Linked DNA regions of Homo sapiens: regions 1, 3, 4, 5 and 6 are each linked to region 2. Evidence: promoter capture Hi-C in 16 types of primary human blood cells and fetal thymus (Javierre and others, 2016). All regions are on one chromosome and are shown on one strand. The core of a region is centred on a gene start or on the middle of the fragment in contact, and the rest is flanking DNA. Distances in the headings are between cores, read along the strand shown.

Evidence for each region. Contacts are between HindIII fragments. The CHiCAGO score rates a contact against its expected background, and 5 or more counts as called.
Region 1: a contact is called between the fragment with the promoter of AP3B2 here and the fragment with the promoter of C15orf40 in region 2, in 11 of 17 cell types (naive CD4 T cells, monocytes, naive B cells and 8 more). The highest score is 8.0, in naive CD4 T cells.
Region 3: a fragment that was not itself captured here is called in contact with the fragment with the promoter of C15orf40 in region 2 in 1 of 17 cell types (endothelial precursors); the score reaches 5.2 in endothelial precursors.
Region 4: a fragment that was not itself captured here is called in contact with the fragment with the promoter of C15orf40 in region 2 in 13 of 17 cell types (naive B cells, total B cells, activated CD4 T cells and 10 more); the score reaches 12.7 in naive B cells.
Region 5: a contact is called between a fragment that was not itself captured here and the fragment with the promoter of C15orf40 in region 2, in 1 of 17 cell types (endothelial precursors). The highest score is 5.0, in endothelial precursors.
Region 6: a fragment that was not itself captured here is called in contact with the fragment with the promoter of C15orf40 in region 2 in 7 of 17 cell types (naive CD4 T cells, non-activated CD4 T cells, total CD4 T cells and 4 more); the score reaches 7.9 in naive CD4 T cells.

What each region holds. Positions count from the first base shown.
Region 1 is chr15:82,707,613-82,711,630 of GRCh38, forward strand. It overlaps AP3B2 (adaptor related protein complex 3 subunit beta 2), which reads right to left and starts at 2,263. Exons shown (of 27, transcript NM_001278512.2): 1 at 1,982-2,263. The coding sequence starts at 2,094. It also overlaps the pseudogene LOC338963. RefSeq lists silencers at 1,787-2,046, 2,267-2,316. The HindIII fragment of the contact is 2,125 bases long and covers 737-2,861 here.
Region 2 is chr15:83,009,868-83,013,605 of GRCh38, forward strand. It overlaps C15orf40 (chromosome 15 open reading frame 40), which reads right to left and starts at 1,772. Exons shown (of 4, transcript NM_144597.3): 1 at 1,630-1,772; 2 at 370-496. The coding sequence starts at 1,740. It overlaps LOC124903542 (a long non-coding RNA gene), which reads left to right and starts at 1,874. Exons shown (of 2, transcript XR_007064742.1): 1 at 1,874-3,192. RefSeq lists an enhancer at 1,950-2,009. The HindIII fragment of the contact is 2,628 bases long and covers 637-3,264 here.
Region 3 is chr15:83,278,357-83,282,118 of GRCh38, forward strand. All of the region lies in intron 1 of BNC1 (basonuclin zinc finger protein 1), which reads right to left. Among named protein-coding and RNA genes, the nearest start is that of BNC1-AS1, 3.8 kb to the right of the region's middle. The HindIII fragment of the contact is 1,640 bases long and covers 1,181-2,820 here.
Region 4 is chr15:82,739,726-82,743,429 of GRCh38, forward strand. It overlaps the pseudogene ACTG1P17. Among named protein-coding and RNA genes, the nearest start is that of SNHG21, 9.0 kb to the right of the region's middle. The HindIII fragment of the contact is 255 bases long and covers 2,322-2,576 here.
Region 5 is chr15:83,306,647-83,310,662 of GRCh38, forward strand. All of the region lies in intron 2 of BNC1-AS1 (BNC1 antisense RNA 1), which reads left to right. Among named protein-coding and RNA genes, the nearest start is that of BNC1, 24 kb to the left of the region's middle. RefSeq lists an enhancer at 3,964-4,016. The HindIII fragment of the contact is 2,523 bases long and covers 570-3,092 here.
Region 6 is chr15:82,688,428-82,692,406 of GRCh38, forward strand. It overlaps AP3B2 (adaptor related protein complex 3 subunit beta 2), which reads right to left. Exons shown (of 27, transcript NM_001278512.2): 2 at 951-1,026; 3 at 731-805; 4 at 309-404. It overlaps CPEB1-AS1 (CPEB1 antisense RNA 1), which reads left to right. Exons shown (of 4, transcript NR_046096.1): 4 at 3,584-3,979. It also overlaps the pseudogene LOC100421235. Among named protein-coding and RNA genes, the nearest start is that of AP3B2, 19 kb to the right of the region's middle. The HindIII fragment of the contact is 3,152 bases long and covers 671-3,822 here.

The DNA of each region.
Region 1 (4,018 bases), core at 1,013-3,512, 300 kb before region 2:
AAGTAAATAAATAATCTTTGCTGGCAGGGCTATGCTGAACCTCCTTGGGCACTCTCTAATTGGATGTCCTGGGTCCTCCCAATTCTTAGTCCTTTAATACCTGTTTTTCTCCTTCTCTTATTCCATTTAGTTTTTCAATTCATACAAAACCGTATCCAGGCCATCACCAATAATCCTATACAACAAATGTTTCTTCTAACAACCCCACAATATCATCCCTTACCACAGAATCTGCCTTCAGCTTAATCTCTCCCACTCTAGGTTCCCACGCCACCCCAATCCCGCTCGAAGCAGCCCTTCAAGGCTATGGAGAAGCAGTATCTCTCCATACCACCCCCCGCCAAAATGTTTGCTGCCCCAACACTTCAACACTATTTTATGTTATTTTTCTTATTAATAAAAGAAGACAGGAATGTCAGGCCTCTGAGCCCAAGCTAAGCCATGATATCCCCTGTGACCTGCACGTATACATCCAGATGGCCTGAAGTAACTGAAGAGTGAAAATGGCCTGTGCCTGCCTTAACTGATGACATTATCTTGTGAAATTCCTTCTCCTGGCTCATCCTGGCTCAAAAGCTCCCCCACTGAGCACCTTGTGTCCCCCCACCGCCAGAGAACAACCCCCTTTGACTGTAATTTTCCACTACCTACCCAAATCCTGTAAAACGGTCCCACCCCATTTCCCTTCGCTGACTCTTTTTTCGGACTCAGCTGGCCTGCACCCAAGTGATTAAAAAGCTTTATTGTTCAAAGCCTGTTTGGTGGTCTCTTCACATGGACGTGCGTGAAAATCCTCATCTTCTCCCCCTGTCCCTCTAAACCCCCACCCAATATCCAATTAATCATCAGGTCTGAGGCTTCCACCTCTTCCACAGCCTCAAATCTTCTGCCTCTCCCCTGGTCTAGGCCACAATCATGCCAGGCCTGTGAACTTCAAGACCCACCTCCCTTGTCTCTTGTTCAATCTGGCCCACCTCCAATCTCTTCTCCACAATGCAGCAGCCTGACGTCCTTCTAAAATATAAATCTGATTATGTCGCCTGCTTAGAATCCTTCAGGAGTCCTCCCCACCCTCTTTTCTGGTCAGTCCAGTGGCTCACACAGATTGTGGCCTGGCTCTCAACCTTCCTGAAAGCCCTTTCCTCTGCCTGGAACATACCTCACGCTCCTGTCTTCCTTCTCTCCGGCGCCAGAGACTAGGTCCTCTCCCTGCTCCCACTGCCCCCATTACACTCGACTGTCCCTGACTGCTTCTTCATCTGTGCTCCCCTCTAGAGCATCGTGAGGACAAGAAGGGTCTCATGTTCACAGTTGTATTCCGTGACTAGTTCAGGACTCGACACAGTTGGCTTTTCATAAATGCTTGTTGCAGAATTTACGAATAAACAAATGAAGAAACAAACGAACGAATCAAAGGTGGGGGAGGGTGTGAAGGTGGAGCTGAACTACAGGGGCAATGCCAGGAGCAGGGATGTGAGGGTCAGATGGAGATGGGGACCAGAGGGAGGGGAAATGAATTTGCAGCAGGGCCAAGCTGGGAGGCTGTGCAAGTACATCCAGGGCCCGCCTTCCTGAAGAGGCCCCAGGCTCAAGCTCAAGTTCGCTGACTCAGACCCCTCCCCCACATTTTTGGGAAGCCAACCCGCCTAGCACGAAAAAGGAAGGGAACCCCTAACGCAACGCCGCAAACCGGAGAAACACCTGGAACCGGAGGGTTTCTCCTCTCGAAACTGAGCTGGCCCATCCCCCGCCAGCCCCTATCTGCCCCCCTCCGCGTCCTAGGCCGGCCCCTGGAGCCGGGGTGCCAGCGCTGCCCGCGCTGGGCCGGGGCTCCAGGCCGCAGGAGGGGGCCGGGCGGGCTTCCGGTCGGCGCGGCCGGGGCGGGGCCGGCGCTGGGGCCGGGCGCTGTCCATGGTGCCCGCGCGCCTCGCCCGGTCCCCGGCCCCAACCCTCCCGCGAGCTTCCTGGCGGGCTCCCTCACCGCTTGTAGTCGGAGGAGAAGATGCCGCCGCTCGCGGGGTCGTGGCCGTACTCGGGCTCCCCGGGGCCAGCGGAGCCGCCCTTGTCTTCGCTGTAGGCGGGGGCGGCCGACATGGGGCGGCCAGGGAGACTTCGCCGAGGAGGAGGTTGCGGGGCCGGAGGCCGGCTGGAGCGGAGGAAGGGAAGGCGGGCCGGTCCGGTCCGGGCTGGCGAAGGCGGCGGCGCGGCAGGGGTTCAGCAGAGGCTGCAGTGTGCAGCGGCGGAGGCTGCGCGCGGATTTCTCAATCAGGGCCGCGCGCTGAGGTCTTAAAGGCACCGGCGCCAGCCGAGCGGAGGGCGTGTCCGCGAGGAGGCGACAGGGGCGGTGCGTCAGGGCCTGGCCCCGCCCATCCCTAGGAAATGCCCTCTTCAGGGCGTCTTCTGCCCTTTAAAGCGACTTGGCTCGTCTCCAGATCTAAAGGTGGGCGAGTCTGCTGGACGGACGCTGGGACCGTCTTGCAGGGGATGTGGAATAGCTGCCCCCACCCCCGACCACCTGGCCTCGGCGGGACGGGCCTCTGGGGCTCCGCTCTCCCCAGACGCACGCGCGGATGCTCACCCACGCCGTGGAGGGAAAGCGGGAACTGGAAAGAAGGCTGTGCCCGCAGGCTGGGGGTTCTAGAGCGGGAAGGGGTCACCGCACCCGAGGACCGGCCTCAGATACCTAAGGACGCTCCCTTTCCCGCCCCACCTTTCCTACAAAATCTGGCTTGGCAGCAGGAAGCCGAGGAGCTTCCTGGAGGTGGCGGAATTTAAGGAATTAAGGTCAGGGAGCTCCGAGGAGCCCTTGGGGGCTTAGAGAGATGGGAAACAGGATACAGAGGACGGTGAACATCTAATTAAGCTTTGGAAAGTAGTTTAATGAATCTTTCTGAAGCCTCCACGTCCACCCAGGAGGGCCAAGGTCATGCTTAATCCGGGGACACGTCCACGTCCATTGACACCTGAAAAGGAAGAGAAGGGTCTGGTGTGACCACCAGGGCTCCTGAGTCATGTGAGCCCTCCAGTTCAGCTCCCGAGCCCGAGTGACCCCTAGGCCCAAGGAAGGAAGGCTTGGATCCGATGGAAAGTAGTGAATTGGGCTGGGGGAAGAGGTAGGATCCAGTTGGGCATCAGTTGAGGTGGCTGGAGTCTTTTAGCTGGGCATGGGGACTGGAGGAGTTCCTAAGGCCTGAGTCTTGGTCTGTAACTAGCATCCCGAAGTCTCCATGGGCAGAATTGGCGGGCCTACCTGGGAAGGAGTGGGGCCCAGAAAGGTGGAGCTTGGCTCAGTAGAAAAGTTCTATTGGGGGTAATTCTACTGGGGTAAGGTTCTATTGGGGTAATGAGAAGGTTCTGTTGGGATAACCTAGACAAGTGGGTGGGTCCGCTTGGTTCCGGTGGCTTTGTGCCTGCCAGAGAAAAGTGGATCTTGAATTTGGAGAAAACTGGCCTGGGTGGGGAGTGGGAAGAGAAGGGCCTGGATTTTGCAGTTGCGCGTTTATAAGGCGCTTTGGCTAGTCTGCTCAGGAGGTGGGATGGGTCCTGTGCAGGTAGCTGGGCCACGCTCACCGACCTGCTGGAGCTCCCGTCTATTTGCCGGGGGTCCAGGCTGGGACCTGGGACGAGCAGACACAGTGCAAAGTGCACACAGTTGCTGCGCATGGAGTGATAGGATGGTGGGTCCGCGTCCGTCGCTTCGCTCACTCTGCGCAGCACGCGCCAGCAGGAGCGCAGCAGCGGGCGCTGCCCCTGTTTGGATACGATGCCTTTCCAGGAGCCCAGAAACTTCCCAGGAGCCCACAGCCTCCTGAGTTCTTGCCTGCGGGGATCGCCAGAGGGGTGCGGATCAGAGCCAGGCTTAGGTCCTATGCCCTGTGATCCCGCACCCCCATTTCCTGAGACCTCAGGGACCCTGAGTGCCCAAACCCCATTTTCAGAGAAACGTACCCCCAGCCTGGGACTTCAGTCTTTATCCCCGAGTAGCCAGCTCACTGGTGGGGCGTGGCTTGGCTGGGCA
Region 2 (3,738 bases), core at 522-3,021:
TTAGGCCAGTGATCATTAAACTACACTAAAATGTCTCTTCTTTCTCTGGCCAATGTCTCCAGTTTTGGAACAGGACAAACTAAGAATAATCCAGACTACACACAAGTTTCCATAACTGTCCTTTCTAAAATACTGTATTTTTAAAGAGGAAAATATACAATGGTTTTCGTGTAACTTGGCATGATTTAAAGATATATTCACTTTAAGACACCTTTACATTAGAATCTAGAATTTTAAAATGGAGAAGCCTCTAACTGCAGATGTGAAAAATCAACTGTCATAGAATAAGCTTTCAGCTAACCAAAGCAAAGGAGGGCTGTAGGAGACACCTGATTCACACTTGAATCCCACCCCAGTGTCCAGGTATACCTGTTACAGCATTTTGTTTGGAGCCAGGTTTTGCATGGATGGCTATGGTGACGCATCCTTTAGGATCAACTGCCACAGGACCTAAGGGAGGAAGTGGTCTCTCTGGTTCCTTGCTCTGGCTTTTACCCTAAAATGACAACCACACAACTTTACAGGTTACAAAATATTTTCCCACACATTTAATTTGATTCTTCCACTACCCCCTTTCACCCTTAACAGACAAACTAGGCTCATCAGTGGTGTCCAGGGACTTCTGGCCACCTAGAAAGCTTTTCCCACAACCTTCAAGGCTCTACTCAATTTTCCCACGAAGGGTTCCCATCAACCCAACAGTGTTTTTTCCCCCCTTGCAAGAAAACCTAACTCTGGCTTCTAAACCTTAATGCTTGCTCCTCCCTCTGCTTTGTATTTCCAATTCCTTGGGGGCAGGGATCATTTATTATTCATCATTGTATCTCATGCAGTCGGAGCTAATAAATGTTGGTGAAAGTGTGTATGTCTGCATGTTGCGGGAAAGGGAGGAAAAAAAAATAGTGCTTGATATTTAAAGGCCTGTTATGGGACAGGGGCTGTGCTAGGAACTTTCGTTCAACAAATATGTAGGCAATGGATATGTAAAGATGAAAAGGTACATGGTCCTTGCTCTCAAGGAGCTCGGACTGCTGCGAGGGAGAAAGAACATACAAAATTATAATACACTGTGCTAAGTGCACCGATGAGATAGGCACAGAACATTACCCCACAGGCAAATCAGCATTGGGGCACTGGAGAATGCTGCCAGCAGGAGGCAGTGCTTGAGCTGAGTCTGAGAAACGGACTGGGGTTGGCCAAACAAAGATGGTGGAAATGGGAGTGCTGTATTCTTGACAGAAGGGGTGCGATCAGCCAAAGCAAGGGAGGAGAAAGCAGAATACAGCCTCCTGGGGAAACGCAGGTCATGCCGCTGCGGGAACATGAATTGCTGGACTGGGAGTGCGGGTAGGAGGCCAAAGGTCAGCACACGCAGCCCAAGGAGAGCTCGGCTGCCGCCGGGCCCAGCGCTCAGAAATCACCAGGTGGACGGCAGCGCAGCCTACTGAGGCGGGGCGACGGCAGCAGGCCGCAGCTCTGGGGGTGGCGGCGGCTGTCCTGAGCCCCGGAACTGAGAGACGGCAAGCCGCTGGCAGTGCCTCCACTCACTCCCGGGCCCCGCTTCTCCCGCGCTCTTCAACAAGTACCCCTGAGGCCCACCCCTCTGCCGCCACGGGACCTGCTACTGGCCTTGGTCGTCGCACCAGCCTTCTTAGGCATCTCGGCGCAAAGAAGCCGAGCGGAGCCCCGAGTATTGGGTGTTGCCCGAAGGTGCCTCAGCCCGCTGCGGAGCCGCAGCATCCCCGCCTGGGAAGGCGCCGGAAGAGCCCTCTGCGCTTGCGCAGGTAGCCGGCAGGAGCGGCCCCACCGCCCGGCGCATCCGCTCTGGCCAGAGGGCGACACCTTAAGGCCGGCGGGAGCGAGTCTCGTGGCCGCAGAACATGCGCGAGTCTCTTTTGTTCTGGAACGGGCCGAGCCCCAGGAAGTGGAGCTGCGGAGCTGAGGCCTCACCGTGTCTTGGCCCACCCTGCTCAGCTGATAGGAAGGTGTGTCACCTCTTTCCTAATCGGGGAAAGAAAGGTATTGTCACTTCTCAGAATTGGAGAGCGCGGCAAGGAGTGCACAGGGCCAGGTGTCTTCTCGCTCCCACAGCCAAGCAGCAGATGCAGAGTCCCACGCGCTGCCTGTGGCCATCAAGTCGATATAGAGCCTCGTGGCGGCTTGGCCCTTGTGAATCTTCCACGTATCGATGGCGCACCTACCTTGTGCCAGGCGCAGCGGATCCCACAATGTAAAAGAAGAGGAAATACACTGCGACATGTGATATGGAGAGACATGAAACAAATCAGCAGAGGCAAGATCATGGAGTCACTGAAGGCTTTCAAGCAAGGGATTATTAGCAGCCCAATTTGCTGGGTTTTAGAAAGACACCGGCTGCACTGTGGCCGACAGAGGAAAAGCCAGAGACAGGGAGATCCGCCCCCTAAATGGGAGAGGGTGGCCTGAACTAGAGTAACCGCAGGGAGGGTGGAGCGCTGATCATTTCAAGGATCTTCAGGAACTGAAATGATCAGAACTTGGGAATGACTGCATGTGCGAATAAGGGGGAAAAGTCAAGGAAATGCCCAGGTTTGGGGCCCAAGGAACAGGTTTGGGAGGCCGAGGTGAGGAGTTCAGCTTTGGACATAATGAGTTTGAGATGCCCACAGGACATCCAAATACAAATGTTAAAGGGGTAACTGAATATATGTGACTGGAGTTTGCGAAATCAAGGCTGGTGATAGAGATTCTGGAATCTTCTGAAAGCAGATGGCAATTGAAGCTATGGAAATGGATGAGAGAGTGTGTAAAGAGCACGAGGGCCCAGGTTAGAACAGCAAGGGCAGGTAGAGAAGTCACCAAAGGACACTGACCAGGTAGGAGTACGGTGTAACGGCAGCTAAAGAAGGGCGCTTCAAGAGGGAACATCAACAGTGATGAACACTCTGGAGAGAACATGTCACATGTAACGACTGAGAAGTGGCCACAAGATTTAGAAATCAGGGTGGTGGTGGTGACCCGGGCTACAGCAGTTTTAGTGGAGAGAAGGAAATGGAGATAATTGTAGAGAATAATCCAGTGACTTCACTGTGAAGGAGCAATTGGTATCTGGAGGGGCACATGACATTCAGAGACTTATTTTTATCATATTTGAAGATTGGTAGGAAAGAGCCAGGAGAAGAGAGGTTACAGCAGAGGACGGTTCCTGAAGAGGTAGGATCTGAGCTCAAGTAGAGATTGAGTTCTCTACAGGAGGCCTTAGACACTCCTTCCTTCCTAAGGGAAAGCTTAGGTGGACATGTAGCTGTGTTTGTAGGTTTGGTGATGGGAGGTGGAATTTCTTTCATTAACTAAGGCGGGGGAGGTGTTGAAGGTATATTGGGACTCTTGAGAATGGCAAAGGGCTGACTATTGCAACTCACCCAGCGGTAGACAGTTAAGGGAGACCGTGAAATCATCTATGATCCCAATCTATAGTTACCTTATTTTATTTTTGTTTATTTTTGAGACAGGGGGATGGGAAGAGCCTGTCGCCCAGGCTGGAGTGCAGTGGCGGGATCTCGGCTCACTGCAACCTCCGCCTCCTAGGTTCAAGCAATTCTCCCTGCCTCAGCCTCCAGAGTAGCTGGGACTACAGGCGCGCGCCACCACACCCATTTTTTGTATTTTTAGTAGAGACGGGCGTTTCGCCATTTCGCCCAGGCTGGTCTCGAACTCCTGAGCTCAGGCAATCCACCCACTTCGGCCTCCCAAAGTGCT
Region 3 (3,762 bases), core at 751-3,250, 270 kb after region 2:
TAGGGAAGACTTGAATGACTGCAAGAAAAAATCACACAACTGGGTTGGTCAAAAACAGCAGAGTAGAGAATATGATTTGTCAAAAATTAGCATGAGTCATTCACTGTGTTAAAATCTAGGAATTCAAAATATACTCAAAACAAACAAAACTCATTGGCCACTTTTAGAAAATGCTAGGAAACCAACTAACTATTCTGAAAATTGGTAAACAAAGGAAAAAAATCAAATGTGTATCCTTTGCTATATAACCTGTATTTCAGGGTAAAAAAATCATTGATGAGACAAAGATTATCTCTGAATGTGGATCAAATAAATGAAGAACTGGAGTATCACCATTCCGCAACTCCTAATGAAAAATAGGAGGCCATTTGTCTCTGGACTGAAGGATACATACCACCACACATATGGTGTTCTTGATAAAAAAGTTCAAACCTGAATTGGATCAAGCCTCTTACTCAACTCCAATTTAAGAATATACAGGAGATACAGGAATGTTTAAATGATACTACAAGGAAATAATCATTGAAATTCAGACCAGGGAGCACTCTACAGGACAAATGATCCAGCTTTTTCAACAAATAAATTGCAAGGAAAAAAGTAAAGTATGAACCTATATATTAAAAAAGACAATGTACGGACCTTACTTGAATCCTGATTTGAAGAAACCAACTGTAATATAAAGTTTGTCAGGTAATCAAGGAAATTTGAACACCAATTAGAAATTTAATGACATTACAGTTATTGTTAATTTTTTAGGTGCTCTATGGTATATTGCCCTGGTTTTTTAAAAAAGAGCCTTTGTATTTTAGAGCTTCATATTATAATATATATGAATGAAATTATATAATGCCTAGGATTTGCTTTAAAGTAATCTAGTGTTGGTTATGATGGGTAGGAAATACAGATGAAATGAGACTGGCCCAAAGTTGGTAACTGTTGAATCCCCAAGCACATATTACATCAAGTTTCATTCTAATTTTGATTGTTTGAAATCTTCTATAATAAAAAGTGAAAAAAATAAGTCAAACTCCTACTCTCCCCCAAATTAAATAGTTTGAGTGGGATAGGAGAAATGGAGAAGTCAAGGTTGTACAGAGAGGCCAGAGAGGGCTTCCTCCAGGAAGAAGGCATGCTCTCATCAGTGCATGCAAGAAATACCACAAGCCTAGGTACAATGTAAAGCTTAACATGTACATATGTGTCAGGCCAAGGAGCCTGGGCCACAGAGCACAGGTCTCTGTTACGGGCAGTGAGACCTACCTTGAAAGACAAAATAAGGTGGGCCTGGGCTGTCCAGATGAGCAGCCAGGAGTCTCTTTATTGGGTTCATAGGATCATTGGCTTTCTACAATGGGGAGGCACTGTTTACCACAAGCATGGTTAAAAGGAGATGTGGGGAGCCTCAGAAACCAGGTAGTCAGCATTTGCAATATAAACACAACACTAAAGGAGAATGGACAAAATCTGGTTTCTCACTCCAAGTATGAGGATGAAATGAGAGACCAAAGACTGAGGGCATGGAGAAGGGTCTGGCAGAGAAAGGGCAGGTGGGAGGTAGAGCTCCTTCAAGTGACAGATATTGATTGGGCTGAGTCTACCTGTGAGTTTAAAGTATGCATGACACATTTGTAGTGTTCTCTAGCTGCTTAGTTCAAAGACTGTGATGGGGAAAATACTTGTTCTTTTGATGTCTATGAATCAAAGTATAAACTGTGTGCCAAAATAATTTAATGTCTGTGCTTTTTTTCTTAAAATTATTAGTTTCAAAAACTGAAAATCTATGAAATAGCTGAAAAACATGCAAACACTACCTTAAAAGCCAAGCCAAATATTTCTTCTTTAAAAAAATTTAAGAACTGTACAGAAATGTAAATTATATGGATATATTTTTTCCTTTATAACCTAATTTGGGAAACCTCAGAGGTAATCTTTAGAAACCTTTGATAACAAAAAACCAAAAGATATTAATTGCATGTAAAGGGAACTTTCCGAACATAGTTGAATCAGCCTGAGGAAAAAAATACAGAGCAAAACACTTACACTTTAGCATAATTTTACCTAAGTTACATAAGCAATGCAACTTCACTACTGCTGCTGATACAAAATAAAGACGAAATTGTGAACATTTCTAAGTAAGATTTTGTAAAACATTCTTTTGGGGACTCATTGAGAACTAGGTTTTTGAAACTAAGTTTTTAAAAAGAAAAGATCAAACTTAGTTAATTATGCCATCCTGATCCCTTGCTTCAAATTCAGTGTGAAGTATCATGAAATGCTAAGAGTTGACAGTATAAAAATTTTACCTTCATAATGAATAATGCAAGAAACAATTAGAGGACTACAGAAAAAGGACAACACTTCCGGAAGCTGATGTACAACTAGAAAAGAAATTTGAGGTTTGAGTATTTGGTAGGATCACACAAATAATCTGTAGGAGACCATCAAACTAATCTAACTATATGAAAAAATGTTAGAACCCTGAATTAAGAGTTTACCTGAGGCAACTATTTCCCTATGGACAGGGCTGTTTGGACCTGACCCTCACATTTTATTTCTCCATCTCTCTTTTGTTTCACATTAGTTGAATGAAATTATCATTTCCCCAAGGCAGAGTCCTCCTGTGATTTGTTAGGCTGGTTTATAATAATGAGTCCATGTGTAGACGGCAAGAGTGACAGTCTGTTTGCCGATAACTAACTATGTGAGGTTTGAGAAGGCCCAAAATTGGACCCTGGAGAAACAAGTCTGTTCTCTGTTTATACCCACCCTCTTCGGCTGAAATAGGCATGTGTCCGTGCAGAGAAATGGTGCCACAGTGGAAGCTTGGAATTTCCAGAATTAGGAAAAGGACTTCAAAGAATGACAAGATATGCAGAAATAAGGTTTTCAGGTGGAAACCAGTTTAAAAGGAAAAAGAAATGCTTTCCAGATGCTTCTTTTGAGCAGAATCCAGTTATCTTTAACATCTCTCAGAGAAGTCATCAAAAATAAAGAAACAAAAACTCTGCAGTAGAACACTTGGAATTACGTAATTAAAAGAAAAGTACCAACTCCCTAAAATCTTGATTTTAGATACTAAAAAGATGGGTGGCTCATCATTGAGATTTTACCTTAGCTAAGGTATTTTCAGTTCCTTCTAAAAAGGACAGTTTCTGACAAAAGTAACCCACTCTAAATGACATCTGTAGAGGAGAAAATTCACCCTGGGGTGAAGCACACTCCTGTAAGTAATTTACCCTGTGGAACCTTCAGGGCATCCCTTTTAATGGCCACATCAAAATTACTTCTAAAGCCACATACAGAAGCTAAAAGACACTTCTGCCCCCCACTCCATAAGCTGCAGTTTAATTTTACTGACAAATTGAACTTTTAAAATGTTTCCCTGTTTATACTTATCCCTAGGCATTCATAAATGACAAATGTGTGCTTAGGGACAACTACTTTGTTCCACAGGGAAACCTGTATGGCTTTTCTCTCTCATCTATCGGGTTGGATCGTCTTTCCAATCTGATGATCTTGAGGTACAGAAAGTGGGCATGGGCCTGGGATGCAGGCCTAACTGCTACATGGGGGAGATGCAATAAAACATAAAATAGCCCTCCAGTAAATCTCATGCTTCCAAGGCAATTACTTCATGTTAGTCAATATTTCTAATGAGAATTATAACCACAGCAAACAGATCACTGTAGGTATCAATGGCCAAAGAACTTTAACCACTTTCTGAAGGAGGAGAATGTCCCTAAATCCTTACTAGTCTGAAGG
Region 4 (3,704 bases), core at 1,199-3,698, 270 kb before region 2:
TTTATAACTCATTGGTTTTAAAAATGCACTTCTCTTACCTAGTTATTGATGCTCAAAATACAAATACATGCTTCCATCTTTTTTATTTTTGAGATGGAGTCTCACTCTTGTTGCCCAGGCTGGAGTGCAATGGTGTGATCTCAGCTCACCGCAACCTCTGCCTCCTGGGTTCAAGCAATTTTCCTGCCTCAGCCTCCCAAGTAGCTGGGATTACAGGCGTGCGCCACCATGCCTGGCTAATTTTCTGTATTTTTACTAGGGATGGGGTTTCTCCATGTTGGCCAGGCTGGTCTCAAACTCCCGACCTCAAGTGATCTGCCCACCTTGGCCTCCCAAAGTGCTGGGATTACAGGTGTGAGCCACCGTGCGTGGCCTTTTTTTTTTTTTTTTTTGAGAGGGAGTCTTGCTCTGTCACCCAGGCTGGAGTGCAATGGCGTGATCTCGGCTCACTGCAACCTCTGCCTCCCGGGTTCAAGCGAGTCTCCTGTCTCAGCCTCCTAAGTAGCTAGGATTACAGATGCACAACGCCACACCCGGCTAATTTTTTGTATTTTTAATAGAGACCGGGTTTCACCATGTTCCCTAGGGTGGTCTCGAACTTCTGAGCTCAGGCAATCCACCTGCCTTGGCCTCCCAAAGTGCTAGGATTACAGGTGTGAGCCACTGTGCCCAGCTGCTTGCATCATTTTATTTATTTTATTTATTTTTTTGAGACAGAGTTTCACTTTTGTTGCCCAGGCTGGAGTGCAATGGCACAATCTCGGCTCACCGCAACCTCTGCCTCTTGGGTTCAAGCAATTCTCCTGCCTCAGCCTCCCGAGTAGCTGGGATTACAGGCATGCGTCACCACCCCTGGCTAATTTTGTATTTTTAATAGAGATGGCGTTTCTCCATGTTGGTCAGGCTGGTCTCGAACTCCTGACCTCTGGTGATCCACCTGCCTCGGCCTCCCAAAGTGCTGGGATTACAGGTGTAAGCCTCCGCGCCCAGCCTGCTTGCATCATTTTAAATGAATGTCTAGTATTCTACTGTATGAATAGACCATAATTTAATCAGTGAACTCTTTTCTTTTTTTTTTTTTTTTTTGAGACAGTCTCACTCTGACACCCAGGCTGGAGCGCAGTGGTGCGATCTAGGCTCACTGCAACCTCCACCTCCCGGGTTCAAGCATTCTCCCTGCCTCAGCCTCCCGAGTAGCTGGGATTACAGGCGCCCAACACCACACCTGGCTAATTTTTGTATTTTTAGTAGAGATGGGGTTTCACCATCTTGGCCAGGCTGGTCTTGAACTCCTGAGCTCAGGCAATCTGCCCTACCTCAGCCTCCCAAAGTGCTGGGATTACAGGCGTGAGCCACCACGCCTGGCTAATTTTTGTATTTTTAGTAGAGATGGGGTTTCACCATGTTGGCCAGGCTAGTCTTGAACTACTGAGCTCAGGCAATCTGCCCTACCTCGGCCTCCCAAAGTGCTGAGATTACAGGTGTGAGCCACAGCGCCCAACCAGTGAATGCTTGATGAGCTTGTTTTTGCCTTGTTAAAATTGAAAACATGATTTATCATCTCACCCTCCTAAGTTTCATTAAAATCATACTTAAGAAATAAAAAGAGACATAAAGATATAAATAAGAGAATGGGAAAAGAAACATAAAGATCTAAACAAGAGAATGGGGAAAAGATCATTAGTAGATCAGAGATTTCAAAGAAATTTTGGAAGATAGCTGATGAAGGAATGATACTGATGCGGGGGGGAAGCAGAAGAAACTGCAGAGGGTGGAAGATATACCCCAGGAAAAAAACAATTCACACTACGGAATGCTAGAAGGGTCCAGAACCAGGAAATATCAGAGACAACTGAGTACAGGAATGAGATATAAGGCCAAGATTCCACATATGAAACAGTTTTCCTTCCCTTCCACCTCTGCATGCAGAATGCCTTACAGCCAAGAATCTACCCCCAGGGTGAAGGTGTGATAGGAGGAACACAGACCATCCAGAATTTCCCATACATTCACACATCACGCTGAAACGTTATTCTGGAAATAAATCTAAGGGCTCCGTAGAAAATCCCCTGCATTCTACCCATTACAGTAAAATGTCAGCATTCCTGTCCCATCATCTTGGCCATCAGAAAAGTTCCACACAAGAGAGCTCGTAATCCACTTATTACTTCATTAAAAAATATAAACAGTCAAGACCCCCCCACTCCAGACATTTGAGGAATACTTCCAATGTGAAATAAAGATGGGTGAGATCACGCCACTGCACTCCACCCTGGGCAACAGAGCAACACTTTGTCTCAGAAAAAAAAAAAAGAAAGAAAAGCTTAACGAACTGACATAATTTTTCTTAAATCCAGAAGAAAAGTGAGGTCACAGGGCAAACCACTATCCCCAAAATTGGAGAGGCAGACAGGTATGTACAAAAGTCACAAGCTACCCAGAGCAGAAATCTCCACAAAGGAACCAATGCCAGGGCAGAAAAACATGAACTGTAATTGAATTGCCAGAGGCAAGTGTAGACAAGTCTGAGAGTCAAAAATTCCAGAAGAAACCAGAAACAGGGGAGGGAGAACCCAAGCTTCTGTGAGTTTTACCTCCAAGAGTTTGACCAGGTTCTCACAATAAATATTAGAGAAAAATCTTGTCATGCTTCTAGCAGGAGAAGAAGAAAAAGAACCATTTCGAAACATGCCAGAGCATGCTGTTCTTAACAAAGTCTGCCCTCGGGAGAAATATTTAATCAGAGCCTAAATGGCTGGAGTTTTATCAGAGCCTAACTGGCCTGGGAGAAGGGAAAAATGCCCAACGCCAGCCCACTCTGGCCATCTTGTCCCACCTAAGGGGGAAGAAAAAAACTGAGAAGCACTTGTAAAGTTCACATTCCAGAAGCACATGCTCACTAAAAGACTGAGACCTAATCATAGGGTTCATAGAGGAATACTTTCCCTCTCCCCACACCTTACCCCCACATTACTAAAGGCCTATTTGCAGCAGTTCCTTTTCCCTGGTACATCCTGTCCAGCTATGAAGAAAAAATTACAAGGCAAACTAAAAGGCAAAACACACATTTTGAAGAGACAGAGCAAGCATCAGAACCAGACATGGCAGGAATGTTGGAATTATTAGACAAGAAATTTTAAACAACTTTGATTAATATACTAACAGCTTTAATGGGTAAAGTAGACAGCATGCAAGAACAGATGGTCAGTGTAAACAGAGAGATGGAAATCCTAAGAAAGAACCAAAAAGACGCTGGGAGCAGTGGCTTACACCTATAATCCTAACACTTTGGGAGGCCGAAGTGGGGCAGATTGCCTGAGCTCAGGAGTTCGAGACCAGCCTGGGCAACATGGCGAAACCCTGTCTCTACTAAAAATACAAAAAAATTAGCAGGGGGTGGTGGTGCGTGCCTGTAGTCCCAGCTTCTTGTGAGGCTGAGGCACAAGAATCTCTTGAACCCAGACCCAGGAAACAGAGGTTGCAGTGAGCCGAGATCATGCCACTGCATTCCAGCCTGGGTAACAGTGAGGCTCTATCTCCAAAATAAATAAATAAACAAAATAAAATAAAAACAAAAAAGAACCAAAAAAAATGCAAGAGATAAAAAACACTGTGAATAGAAAATGAAGAATGTCTTTGATGGGCTAATAGACTGGACATGGTGAGGAAAGATATGATATATGATGATATATCAACAGAAACCT
Region 5 (4,016 bases), core at 581-3,080, 300 kb after region 2:
GTATGGGAGATGGAAATCGCTTTTCTTAAGAATAAGCATTCCCAAACACTCCATTCTTCTTAGAGTGTGCAAATGTGAAAGTGATAGCAGTGGCATATTTAGCATACTTCACAAGAGTCTTCCTCAAGCCATACATAGTGGGAGAGAAATTTCAAATAAAAGAGTTTGAGTAACTAATAAGGAATTTTTTGGACTTGGAAGCACCAGTAAGACTATGGTTTATTCCTCCCTTCAGCAGGCACTGAGGGCCTATTAAGGGGATTGAGGATGGATGAAGGTCACCTAAACGTTGAAAGCCATGGCCATGGTTCTCTAGCTCAAAAGACACATGAATAGTGTCTTGTAAGGCTGAAGAAAAACAGTCACGACTTAAATCTACCTGTGCCCTCCAAGATGTCCTTTTGATAGGGTATGTGACCTTGGGCAAGTCACTTCATCAGCTGGTCTTGTTTCTTCACCTATAAAATGAAGATAGTAAAACGCTGGTGCCTTCAGGGTATTCCTGGCACTAATGAAGGCTCATAAAGTGCTTTGAGATCCTTAGGATGAAAGTCTCTTCAGAACAGTAAAGCTTGATTATTATGCTGCAAACATGACATTCCCATGAAAGTCCTGGTCAGGCTCTTACCCCACCTCTCAGGGAAGATTTAATAGTGGAGAATTGTAATATGTTCTTAAAGGATTGAGATCTCCATTACTGATACAAAATATGCCACAGTAAACTAGTATATTAAGGGCTATTATCATGAATAATTTAAAGCCAAGTTGTACTTACAGATTAATCAACCAAGTATATATTATGATGCAGTAGATTTTCATTGTGGCTTCCCCCAACAGACTAATGTGACAAAAAATTATTATTCTCAGTGGATCCTCCAGTTTGCATAGATTAGCAGGTTGACTTCACATAATGGGTCATCACAGTAAACTTCTGAGGGATACCTTTATATCTACTCTAAGAAATAAACCCAATTAGAGGTCTCTTCTTAGTACAGAAGAAGAGGTTCATTAATGATAATGAGAGACTGGGTTACACTAGGCCCTAAGTTTGTAATTAATCTTGTACAGACCTTCCCGCTTGAAAATATTGAAGAATATCAAAGTCATGTACATCACTCCAGGCTAAAACACATGCACGTGAAAAGGGGAGAGCAGGCTCATGCACAGATGTCTTGGCTGATCTTGGACAATGCTACTTCTGATGATGCATTGGAAGGTGTAACCATAATTAGATCAAGTGAAAGCCTTGTGTGAGCTCATTTAGATAATTCACTAAGTCTGAATATTAAAAATCCACAATTTCTGTATTCCATAGCATTAAAAAAGATGTCCACAGTAAGGTACAAAGGATGGATTTTAAAAGACATGCTAAGAGGAATTACAGACACTAATGTGTTAGTGGAATGACAGATTATGGTCGTCTCAAGAAAATTTTAAAGAAATATCCAGGCCGGGCACGGTGGCTCACGCCTGTAATCCCAGCACTTTGGGAGGCCGAGGCAGGCAGGTCACGAGGTCAGGAGATCGAGGCCATCCTGGCTAACACGGTAAAACCTGTCTCTACTAAAAATACAAACAAAAAAAAAAAATTTAGCTGGGTGTGGTGGCAGGCGCCTGTAGTCCCAGCAACTCAGGAGGCTGAGGCAGGAGAATGGCGTGAACCCGGGACATGGAGCTTGCAGTGAGCCGAGATAGCACCACTGCACTCCAGCCTGGGTGACAGAGCGAGACTCCATCTCAAAAGAAAAAAAAAAAAAAAAAGAAATATCCAAAGTATTAGTGTTACATTGTGTGTTCCTTTTCTGAGATTTCCATCTCTTCCTATGATTTTTTTAAAAAATAATGCTGCCATTGGCACCAGCTAATATAAGATAATTGGCAATGCCACTGTACTCTTGACTGTAGTGGGAGAGAAAAATAGATTACTTTCTGCTAGAGATAAGGGACACTTTCAGATTTCTGGAATGCTATTTGAAAGGAGAAAGGTGCTCAGTAAAAGACTAGGGATGTTGCCACAATAGTGAGTTCTATCTCTGCAGCTGGGAAACTCATCTACAACAGACCTGACGGTCCAAATACTGAAAAAATAATTAAGGCCATTCGGAACCATTAAGTTTATAGATAAGCAGGATAAACTGACCTTCAAGGGAATCTGCAATTCTTTTCCTGACTCCAAGCCAAGTTTTCCTAACATGCCGTGCGTTGGTGTACCTCCGTGCCTTTGCTCAGCAAGTACCTTCACCCACCTAGCCACTTCTCTGCCTGAGAAACTCCTACTCATCCTTCAAGATGTAGGTCTAAATATCTCTTGCTGTGTGGAGACTTCTTTGGTGTTGCAGAGGTAGAGATAGATGCTTGATGCTCTCATAACACTCAGTTTCCTTCCTTCCTTCCTTCCTTCCTTCCTTCCTTCCTTCCTTCCTTCCTTCCTTCCTTCTTTCCTTCCTTCCTACCTTCCTTCTTTCCTGAGATGGAGTTTCGCTCTTGTTGCCTAGGCTGGAGTGCAATGGCACGATCTTGGCTCACCGCAACTTCTGCCTCCTGGGTTCAAGCGATTCTCCTGCCTCAGCCTCCCCAGTAGCTGGGATTACAGGCATGCGCCACCGCACCCGGCTAATTTTTTTGTATTTTTAGTAGAATCGAGGTTTTTCCATGATGGTCAGGCTGGTCTGGAACTCCTGACCTCAGGTGATCCGCCCACCTCAGCCTCCCAAAGTGCTGGGATTACAGGCGTGAGCCACTGCGTCTGGTCAGTTTCCATCTTTTTCTATGATGCATTACATCCTATTGCAAAGTTTTCAGTGTCTGTTTCCCCTTCGATGCTTGAGCCTTGAGGCACTGGGACCACATCTTATCACTTTAGTTATAAAAGACATGATAAAACTGCCTGGTGCCTAATACAAGTCCAATGACTCTAAATTCAAGTATTTACTGTCCAATGTGACACAGGAACTGAACAATCAGAGCACATGCTGGCTGTAAACAATTGTCGGGGCTGTTCTGGGATGTAGCTCTCCACAGGCATCATAACAGCCACCAAATGTTTATTGAAATAAAATCAACCATAGCCTGACTTACTGAGTGTACAGTAAAGCTTTTATAGCCCCAGAGCTAAGTGTCACCATTTTCCCATCTATAAAATGGGAGAGTAATACCTTCTTCATGATGTTGTTATAAATCTAATATGAATCAAATGAAAAGGCACCTCATGCCTAATACAAGATGATTGACTCTGTGCTTGTGGCCAAATCACCTGTCAACTACTAAAAGCTCTAGAAAATGGCCCTAACCCATCATTTCAAAAGGGATCATTATCTCCCAAATCACCAGGGATAGTTTGGGGAGTTTGGCCTGGAGTCCATCAGGGTAGGTTGAATGTGAGGGTCTTGGTGAAGTAGGTGCCCCTTCCATTGTCCATGTGGCCTAGCGTCAGGTAAAGGGAAACAGCTAATTTAGAGAAAAGCGTGCCTTGTGGAACACACCCTGGGTCATAGATTTTCAGCTAGTTTCCTTTCTCAAGGGTAGTGATTCTTACATTTTGCTGCACATTCAAATCACCTGGAGAGCTTTTAAAATTCCTGCTGCCCAGGCTGCACTCCTGGTGAGTTATATCAGGATCTCAGGGTTGGGACCCAGACATGGGTATTTCCTACAGCTCCTGTGGATGATTCCAGTGGGCAGTCAAGTTTGAGAACCAGAGTCTAGGGCATGGAGGGGTCACAGTCCTAGATGCCCACAGAGGTCTGGCAGGTCATGTGGATGAGTTAGTGTCAGACAACTGGGAGCAGGGAAGACCTGTGGTAAACTGGAAAGCACCTGTCTTATTTAAAGATTTTCAACTTAAAAAAATGAATTCACTACATATACCCCCAAAATATGTAAAACGATTATATATCAATTAAAAACATTTTTTTAAAAAATGAATTCACTGTTCCAGCCAAATGAAACACAGCTGTGAGCTGTGTTTGGCCCATAAGCCATTGGTTTGCAAAACCTGTCTGTGGTAATATTGCCTG
Region 6 (3,979 bases), core at 997-3,496, 320 kb before region 2:
CATTGCTAGAGACTCTCCACTCTCCGGGGGCTCAAGTGGTTCATACTAGAAGCAGCCATTACCACAGGCTCCTGGGAAGAGAGACAGGGGCCCTGGGTACCCACTTCATCTCTTACGCCCCTTCTGAGCCCAGCTTCCACTCTCTGAGGGTCTGGCTGGCCTCTTCTGACTGTGACCCTCCCAATTTTAGGCAGGTAGGAAGGGGTCTGCAGAGCCCGCTCCCATGCTCATGGCCTCTCCCCAGGCCTACTCCTCCGATACAGCGCCAACGAGGCCCAGGCCCTGGGAGGCAAACTGAGACCCCTGACCTTTAGGCCACGTTGGAAGGTGGAGATGGACAGCAGGGCCAGGTCTTGCTGCTCCTCAGCGTAGCGTACCAGGTACACATAGACAAGCTTCTTCACCTTGGGGAGAGCACGTTTCTCAGCAGAACGCTTCTCAGCAGGCACCTGTGCCCACCCCCCTACCCCTGGGATGTCATCTCCCCAGCCAGCTGCGGTCCATGGGGACAAACTCTCCCAGTGGGGGAGAGCACCCCTGAGTGTATCCGGGTCCTTTACCTTGATCCACATCCAGTTCAGGGACATGGAGACAGTGTCTTCTCCTGGCTCAGAGACATTTCTCAGCAGGTCGGGCCCCCAGGGGCTAAATCATTTCCTTCCTCACCCCAAGCTTGAGTGTGGTCCTGGGGGAGGTGGGGACAAGCAATCCCTCACCAGGTAGTGCTCACCTCTATGTTCTTACAGGCCACGTTCTTCACCACCGCGGGAAACAGGTCTGAAGCATTCTTTCCTCGGGCAATCATCTGGGTGGTGGGGTCAAGGTAGGGGAAGAGGGACAAAGCGAGAGGCACAGCACTAACTAGAGGGAAGGTCTACAAGGAGCTAAGGAGAGCTGCTCTTGGCCACCCAGGCCCCGCCCGGAGGGAGGCCTCCTCCTTCCCCTCTTACCGCCACAATCCTCTTCATGGCCTCCAGCTTGAGAGAATCCTTGTTGGTGTCCAGCATCTCCTTCAGGTCATCATGCCTGGTGGGAGGTACAAGAAGTCAGCTGAGGGCACAAGGGTGGGGATGGGGTATTAATCAGGAGGGTCCAGGCACAAAGAAGGGACATGGCCAGGGGAGGCTCAGGCAGGACCTGACCCGAGGAGGGACCAGAGCCAGGGGGAACAAGTAAAGTACAGATCAGGGGAAACATGTGGCCAGCTAATATTGTGGGTTGAACTGTGTCCTTCCTAAAAAGGATATATTTAAGTCTTAACCCCTAGTACCTCAGAATGTAACCTTATTTGGAAATAGAGTTGTTGCAGATGTAATTAGTTAAATGCAATCCTACTCTAATAGAGTGGGTCTCTAATCCCATGTCTGGTTTCCCATAAGAAGACAGCCATGTGGGCTGGGTGTGGCGGCTCACGCCTGTAATCCCAGCACTTTGGGAAGCTGAGACGGGAGGATCACTTGAGCCCTGGAGTTCGAGACCAGCCTGGCAACATGGTGAAACAATGTGTCTACAAAAAATAGATTAAATTGAAATTAAAAAAACACAAAAAACAAAAGACAGCCACTTAAAGAGACAGACACAGGGAGACTACCATGTGAAGGCAGACGATTGGAAAGATGCGTCTACAAGCCAGGGAATGCCAGAGACTGCCAGCAAACAACCAGAAGCTAGAAGGGGCAAAGAAGGATTTCCCTATGGGTTTCAGAGGGAGCATGGTCCTGCCGACACCTTGAGTTCAGACTTTTGGCCTCCAGAGCTGTGAGACAATTCATTTCTGCTGTTCCAACCAACCCAATTGTTGTACTTTTTTTTTTCAATTACTAAACTTTTTTTTTTTAATTATACTTTTAAGTTCTAGGGTACATGTGCACAACGTGCAGCTTTGTTACATATGTATACATGTGCCATGTTGGTGTGCTGCACCCATTAATTCGTCATTTACATTAGGTATTCCTCCTAATGCTATCCCTCCCTCCTCCCCCAACGCCACAACAGGCCCCAGTGTGTGATGTTCCCCACCCCGTGTTCAAGTGTTCTCATTGTTCAATTCCCACCTATGAGTGAGAACCTGCAGTGTTTGGTTTTCTGTCCTTGCAGTAGTTTGCTCAGAATGATGGTTTCCAGCTTCATCCATGTCCCTACAAAGGACACGAACTCATCCTTTTTTATGGTTGCATAGTATTCCATGGTGTATATGTGCCACATTTTCTTCTTCTTTTTTTTTTTTTTTTTTTTTTTTTTTGTGAGATGGAGTCTCGCTCTGTCGCCCAGGCTGGAGTGCAGTGGCGCAATCTCGGCTCACTGCAAGCTCCACCTCCTGGGTTCATGCCATTCTCCTGCCTCAGCCTACCGAGTAGCTGGGACTACAGGTACCCGCCACCACCACGCCCAGCTAATTGTTTGTATTTTTAGTAGAGACGGGGTTTCACCGTGTTAGCCAGGATGGTCTCGATCTCCTGACCTCGTGATCTACCCGTCTTGGCCTCCCAAAGTGCTGGGATTACAGGCATGAGCCACGCTGGGATTACAGGCATGAGCCACCGCACCCAGCCATGCCACATGTTCTTAATCCAGTCTATCACTGATGGACATTTGGGTTGGTTCCAAGTCTTTGCTATTGTGAACAGTGCTGCAATAAACATACGTGTGCATGTGTCTTTATAGTAGAATGATTTACAATCCTTTGGGTATATACCCAATAACGGGATCACTGGGTCAAATGGTATTTCTAGTTCTAGATCCTTGAGGAATCGCCACACTGTCTTCCACAATGGGTGAACTAGTTTACACTCCCACCAACAGTGTAAAAATGTTTCTATTTCTCCACATCCTCTCCAGCACCTGTTGTTTCCTGACTTTTAATGATTGCCATTCTAACTGGTGTGAGATGGTACCTCATTGTGGTTTTGATTTGCATTTCTCTGATGGCCAGTGATGATGAGCATTTTTCTTAAACGTTTAAAACATATTTTTAAGCAGAATGGGCCAACTCAGTCACAGTAACTGTTGATCTCCATAGCAGAGCAACCCACAAAGACGGAACTGATTTTTTACCCATATTCAGGAGTGAAAAATATACAACTTGTTTCTGAACCAAAACCACAATTTCTGCAGTTTAAAATGTTTCACTGCTAATATGGCCCTGGTAGAAAGTATGTAGTTTTTTTTTCTTCTTTAAAAAAAAAAAATTAAAATAATTTCCTAAGACGCTAAATCCTCAATCTGGAATGCAGATTCTGAGCACAAAGCAGCTCAGTTAACCTAAAAAATAAAGAAAAAATTCCCATCACCTGTCTCAGTAGGGCCTGAAAGGAGAGAAGTGGTGTGGGGAACCCCGGCTTTAGTATGGAGAGTCACGGCCCCTTGACCCAAACCGAGACTGTGAGTAGCCATAGCTGGTGCTTCTCTCAGGATAAACTCAGATGTAGGAAGTTTCACTATCATGAGAGTGGAATTTAGTGTCATCCAATTTATGCAGGGCATATTCCATGTCTTCTTTTCTGAGATACTCAACCATCCCCACACCGTCCTTCTGCACATCGGCATAACAGACATCCCCAACTTCTCGCATGTGATCCTTCAGGTCCTGCCAGCTGCCTGAGGAAGTCCTGAAACAAGAACTCGGAAATCAGATCTTCTTGCAGAAGGCCCATTCCTCCCACCACGGGGCCACCCACCCCGACTTCGTAAGTCCTGGAGAACTCCACACGAAGCCGACACTGGCCATAATCATAACTATTTCTTCCATAAATAGCATCCTCTGCATCTCGGGGGTCCTCAAAGCGCACCAAGGCGAAGGGCACAAGGCAGTGCCCATTCTTAAGCTTGATCTTGCGGATCCGGCCGTACTTGTAGAAAAGGTCTTCCACGTCCTTCTCGCGCACGTTGGAAGGCTCACCACGCAGATGCGCTCATCCGCCCAGCCCAACATCGGCACCTCCCAACGCCCCCTCCCCGCAATCCCCCCGCAGCGTCCCCG